Regions from separate parts of the Homo sapiens genome. Here region 2 is linked to region 1. The links are contacts of gene promoters, found by promoter capture Hi-C in human tissues and cell types (Jung and others, 2019). All regions are on one chromosome and are shown on one strand. The core of a region is centred on a gene start or on the middle of the fragment in contact, and the rest is flanking DNA. Distances in the headings are between cores, read along the strand shown.

The links. The method cuts DNA at HindIII sites, captures the fragments that hold promoters and counts their contacts. A contact is called where the count stands out against the background at its distance.
Region 2: a fragment that was not itself captured here is called in contact with the fragment with the promoter of BTN3A1 in region 1 in 2 of the 25 tissues and cell types used here (neural progenitor cells and small bowel).

What each region holds. Positions count from the first base shown.
Region 1 is chr6:26,401,025-26,404,160 of GRCh38, forward strand. It overlaps BTN3A1 (butyrophilin subfamily 3 member A1), which reads left to right and starts at 1,251. Exons shown (of 10, transcript NM_007048.6): 1 at 1,251-1,388. RefSeq lists an enhancer at 1,159-1,218. The HindIII fragment of the contact is 20,018 bases long and covers 1-3,136 here.
Region 2 is chr6:26,352,482-26,355,607 of GRCh38, forward strand. It overlaps the pseudogene LOC124901520. Among named protein-coding and RNA genes, the nearest start is that of BTN3A2, 11 kb to the right of the region's middle. The HindIII fragment of the contact is 5,027 bases long and covers 1-3,126 here.

The DNA.
Region 1 (3,136 bases), core at 1-2,500:
TCTACCAGATGGAAAAGAACGTTGTAGTACCTAAGAAAATTAGGCCTTATCACCAAGAAGAAAGGGGGAATGCATGATGCAGAAGGGACCAGCCATCTCAATCAGATACTACACAGTCTAAATTCAAACATTTACAATATAATTAAATTGCATCAGCCCCAGTCACATCTTAGCCTTAGGAACTTCGATCATTGACTTGCAATCCCAGAAAGTCTGTTTTGAGGTCCTAGGCCACAGGAAGAACCAATTTGTTTTATAGACATCTTACAGAGACAGCATTCACAGTTTATCTAGAGTCTGGCCTCAGAGAATATGTACTCCACTGGCAGCAGGAGAAACAAATACACAGGAAAATACAGTGTAGCACAGAACAGGAGCTGAGGGTGAATGGAGATGCTCAGAAACACCTGCACTAAAAATTTGCTGAAAAAGGTAAAACGTGTCAAGCAGCACTGCCTCTGGAAGCCAGAAAAATTACATTTTTTGATAACAGATCCTAAGCCTGGATGCTGGAGGTGCTTAAAAATGTGCATTGTGGGCCGGGTGCAGTGGCTTAAGCCTGTAATCCTAGCACTTTGGGATCTGAGGAGGGAGGATCACTTGAGCTCAGGAGTTTGAGACCAGCCTGGCCAATATGGCAAAACCCTGTCTCTACTAAAAATACAAAAAGTAGCCGGGCATGGGGCGAGCACCTGTAATCCCAGTTATTCAGGAGCTGAGGCAGGAAAATCACTTGAACCTGGGAGGCGAAGGTTGCAGTGAGCCAAGATCCTGCAACTGCACTCCAACCTGGGTGACAGAGTGAAACTCCGTTTCAAAAAAAAAGTGCATTGTGTCTGGTTTTCTTTCCATTCATACGTTTATTTGACTCTGTAGTAAAATCTCCTCCTCCTCCATGTACCCATATTCATGCAAGCAAATGTTAGCAAACTGCCACAGTAGCATTTTAATTAGTGCTCATCTTTCTCTCTTCACCACATTAAAATCTTTTCCCATTGTGTTCTGCTGATATTTCTATTATGATAAAAGACTTAAGACAAGTGACTATATAGAAATACGTATATACACACAAGAATGAAAGAGATAAACAGTAAGGGAGGTAGGGCAGGAATTTTTCTTCAACGTGTACAATTCAATGTACTTTCAGTTTTCATTTCAGCCTTCCTCAGTGGTTTCTGCCCAGCAACTGATGAGAAACATCACCTCTGAGCCAATCAAAAAACTTATTCTTCCAAAGAGAGATTGTTATTATTCCTCACGATGACCCGACAGTCTCTGCTTTCTTTTTCCTTTCTTCCAGAAGGAGATTTAACCATAGTAGAAAGAATGGAGAACTATTAACTGCCTTTCTTCTGTGGGCTGTGATTTTCAGAGGGGAATGCTAAGAGGTGAGTGGGGGAAGTCGATTAGAGCCTGGTTCACAATGCCTGGGAGGACAGGGGCTGAATCGCTGAGAGTGGTGAGTGGGCATGCAGGGAGAGTACTCACCCAGAGAAAGGGGTGTGTGCCTGAGGGGGTGCGCACGCACACATGTGGACACATGGAAAGGGGAGAAGTAGTGCAAAGAATAAAGACCTGCAGAGTTTGGGATTTGGTGAAGAAATAGTCTAATTGCATGTTCTTAAGAACGTATTGTAGTCAGAAAAGGGCAAACAATCTTTAAAATCTGTTCTGGACAACTCAAGGCATCTATTCTAAGAGATTCTAAAAAGAGGTGTCCTTTATAGATTCATATGTAAATTTGTTCATTACAGAAGTATTAAAAATGTAGAAAAACCTGAACCAGCATACATATACAACAGGCGGGGGATAGACAAACAATGCATGGTTCAATCATAAAAGAGATTTCCATGCAGCCTTTAGGAATCGTGTTTTTAATGAAGGGCAATTATTTATAATTTTAGCAATGTTAGATCCATACATTAAACCTTGTTTTAAAATCTTTTAGGAACAGTATGTGTTTTTCCTTTTATTCATCATTTCCCCCAAACCTAACGAATGCTATCCAATGGATACAATCTATTTCATTGTATGAATATACAATTTTTTTGTTTGTTTTGAGATGCAGTCTTGCTCTATCACCCAGGCTGGAGTGCAGTGGCATGTTCTCGGCTTACTGCAGCCTCTGCTTCCTGGGTTCCAGTGATTCTCCTGCCTCAGTCTCCTGGGTAGCTGAGATTACAGGTGCACGCCACCACACCCAGCTAGTTTTTGTATTTTTAGTAGATTCGGAGTTTCGCCATATTGTCTAGGCTGGTCTCAAACTCCTGACCTCAGGTGATCTGCCCACCTCAGCCTCCCAAAGAGCTGGGATTACAGGCGTGAGCCACCACACCCAGCCTTTAAAATTATTTTTAAACACTTCCCTAGTTTGGACTATTTCTCTTTTCTGCATTTGGCTATTGTAGATTTTACTGTATTGAGCAGCCTAAAACATAAATTTTTGTCTTAGTTCCTGATTTTCTTTTTTCTGCAACACTAATTCCTACAAGTGGAACATTTGGGTCAAAGCACACACCTTTTTTTTTTCTTTTAATAGCCATTCCTTAGCAAAGCATATAACTTTTTTTAAGGCCCTTTATATATATATGGTCAAAATACTTCCAGAAATATTTACCTTTTCACTACCAAAGTATATGACTACTACTATAGATATTTTATTTTATTTATTGATTGATTTGTAGAGATGGGGTTTCATTATGTTGACCAGGCTGGTCTTGAATTCCTGGGCTCCAGGGATCCTCCCATCTCAACTTCCCAAATTGCAAGGATTACAGGCATGAACCACTACTTAAACTTGTATTCCTTTATGCTTTTTTTCATTTGCAATATTGACTATAATCAGGAAAAAAAATATATCCTTTATGAAGAAGAAAAACTTATGTCTCATTCTAAGGACAGCAGAGAAATTGTTAACTCAGGGAAAATGATAATAAAAATGATACCCCCTCTATAGCAACATAAAGAGCAGTTTCGAGGAGCAAAAGATGTGGTGAAATGCATTGTTTACTCTGGGTGGGTGCAAGATCCAGGCAGGGGTGAAGCATGGCCGGCTGCACAGATCTCTGTTCTCTTGTTTCCTTTACATCCCTCCCCACCTCCCTCTGCAGATCTTGTTCTCAGAGGCCATTCCCAG
Region 2 (3,126 bases), core at 339-2,838, 48 kb before region 1:
TACATTATGACAGGGTAGTTTGTAGCATTTCCATTTGTAACAATAATTAACACAATAATGTCCTGTTCTTCAGTTAGTATGCAGTACTGTTTTTTTGAATAACCCACTGGGACTTGGGTGGCTTAGGTGGCAGACAGGCATGGATATGCCCCGCCGTAACGGCTGGAATTCTTAGCTGTGAGCGGGCGCACCCCTCAGGCAGTGATGATGTGCTGAGCCCCAAGCAGCCAAAATGTCAATGACTATAAGACATTCAGCCACAGGAACCAAAGTCACCGGCACCTCAAATGGCCAGAGGCACCCCACAGCAGATAAGCACCATAGGTCACTGCTTTTGTCCCCAAGCCTCTTAATGTCACCAGTTTAATTTTTCCCTTAAGGAGACCTGGAAATATTGTCACATGGGTTCCAATATCTAAGAACACCAGAAAAATATGAATTCCTTTTTCCCCCTTTTTATCTTTTAAAGGAATATTATTAATTTTAAAAGCAGGGACCATGCTAATCATCTCTATATCATTCCAATTTCAGTATATGTGCTGCTGAAGCAAGCATGTCTTTTTTTTTTTAATTTTTAAATTTTAAATTTTATGAGCACATAGTAAGTGGATATATTTAATAGGTACGTGAGACATTTTGGTACAGGACGCAATCTGTAATAATCACATCATGGAAAATGGGGTATCCATCCTTTCAAGCATTTATCCTTTGTGTTAAAAACAATCCAATTATACTCTTAGTTATTTTAAAATGTACAATTAAGATATTATTGACTATAGTCTTCCTGTTGTGCTGTCAAACATTAGGTCTTTTTCATTCTTCTGTTTTTTTTTGTTTTTTTTTTTGTTTTTTTCTTTTTTCAGATGGAGTTTTGCTCTTGTTGCCCTGGCTGGAGTGCAATGGCATGGTCTCGGCTCACTGCAACCTGCGCCTCCCGGGTTCAAGTGATTCTCCTGTCTCAGCCTCCTGAGTAGCTGGGATTATAGGCACACACCACCATGCCTGGCTAACTTTTGTATTTTTAGAAGAGACAGGGTTTCACCATGTTGGCCAGGCTGATCTTCAACTACTGACCTCAGGTGATCCACCCGCCTCAGCCTCTCAAAGTATTGGGATTACAGGCACGAGCCACCACATCCGGCCCTTTTTCATTAACCATCCCCACCTCCTCTCCCGCTTCCTCCCACTTCCACTACCCTTCCAAGCCTCTGGTAACCATCCTTATATTCTCTTATCTCCATGAGTTCAATTGTTTTGATTTTTAGATCCTGCAAATAACTGAGAACATCCAAAGTTTGTCTTTCTGTTCCTGGCTTATTATAAGAACTCCTGTTTTATCTTGACAGGAATATAGAGTGACTGACCTCCAGTGGGGAGGAAACCAGAGACCGTGGCCCCATTCCCAACTGGGCCATTCAGCCTGAGACATTTGGATTTGATAGAACCTCTTTGATAGAACCATGGCTTATTGATGAAGTGGAAGGAGTGATACCCGAAGTACCCAGCCCACGGTGTAGACATCAACCTACAGGGGTGCGGAAGCTGGACACACCACCCAGCCTGCACAAGATTTAGCTGGCTATTCTCCATTTTTATTCTTTGGATAATGAGTTTCTGCTCTGTAAATGCCCTTATGAACTGTGTTTGGTTCCCTCTCAGATGCCTCAGGGACCACCAGAGGACCTCTTCCTCTTCCCTCTCAGGGTTCTCAGGGATCAACTGAGTATCCATTTCCTGAGTTCTCTAGCTCTCGGGAATGAACAACCATACAAGTGTCCAACAATCAGAGGGTGGCTTGCCACTGTCCTATTCTATATTTCTTTCTCTCTGCCCCAGTCAGTGCAGCCAGCTCACTCATATCCGCAGGGTTGGGGGTGACCTATGTCCTGTTTACAAAAAGAGTCAAACTGTAAAACATTTGAAGAGATTTATTCTCAGCCAAATATGAGTGACCAATGGCCTGTGACACAGCCCTCAGGAGATCCTGAAAACATGTGCCCAAGGTGATCGGGGCACAGCCAGGTTTTATAGAGTTTAGGGAGGCATGAGACATCAATCAAACACATGTAAAAAATTCATTGGTTGGGTCTGGAAAGGCAGGACAACTCGAAGCTGAGAAAGGGTGGTGGGGTGAGGGTGTGGCTTCCTGGTTATAGGTAGATTTAAAATTTTGTGATTGGCAACTGGTTGAAAGAGTTATTATCAATAGGAAGGAATGTCTGGGTTATAATGATAAGGGGTTGTGGAGAACAAAGCTTTATTATGCAGATGAAGCCTTCAGGTAGCAGGCTTCAGAGAGAATAGATTGTAAATATTTCTTGTCAGACTTGAGGTATGTGTTGATGTTAATGCTGGTCAGCTTTTCCTGAAAGCCAAACTTGAGTGGGGTATAATTGGCCCTTCTTTCCTGTCATGACCTGAACCAGATAATCAGGTAAACTTTGGAATGCCCTGGCCAAGAGGAAAGGTCCATTCAGATGGTGAGAAGGCCTTCAAATTTTATTGTTGGCTTATAATCTCACCTCTCATTCTTCCTTTTATAAATCATCTGGCTGCTTGTCCAGCTCCTGCACACCTCTAGGTTGATGTCTACACCCTGGGCTGGGTACTTCGGGGTATCATTCCTTCCACTTCATCAATAAGCCATGGTTCTATCAAAGAGGGCCCTGCTCACTTCACCAATTTTGTGAACCAGATTCACCATGCACTGGTGAATTTTGTGAACCTGCCTGAGCCTGGTGAGACAGAAGACACTCACATGCAACAAGTTACATGAAGCAAATGTATTACTTACAGATAGGAAGCAAGAGACAACAGAAGACTAGAATTCATTATGTGCCAGTTTCCCAAGGCTTATGAAAGCTGCCTTGGGTGGATGGAGCTTCAATTGCACATGGCCTACTGTTGTTGCAGCTGAGGGGCCCCAAAAGCAGCTTACCCCAGGCTCAGTACCTCAGGGGCCACAGGAATCACTGGGTAAATCTCATCCTACTTTCAGGGAGAGAGGAACAAGGCTCTGGTTGTCCTAGCAGTTCCTCCTTAATTCAATATGTTACATTCTTTAGGAGAGCCAGGAGCCAGGCCCAGGCTGTTTCAGGCAGTTCCTCCCTGCCTCAGGATATGGGC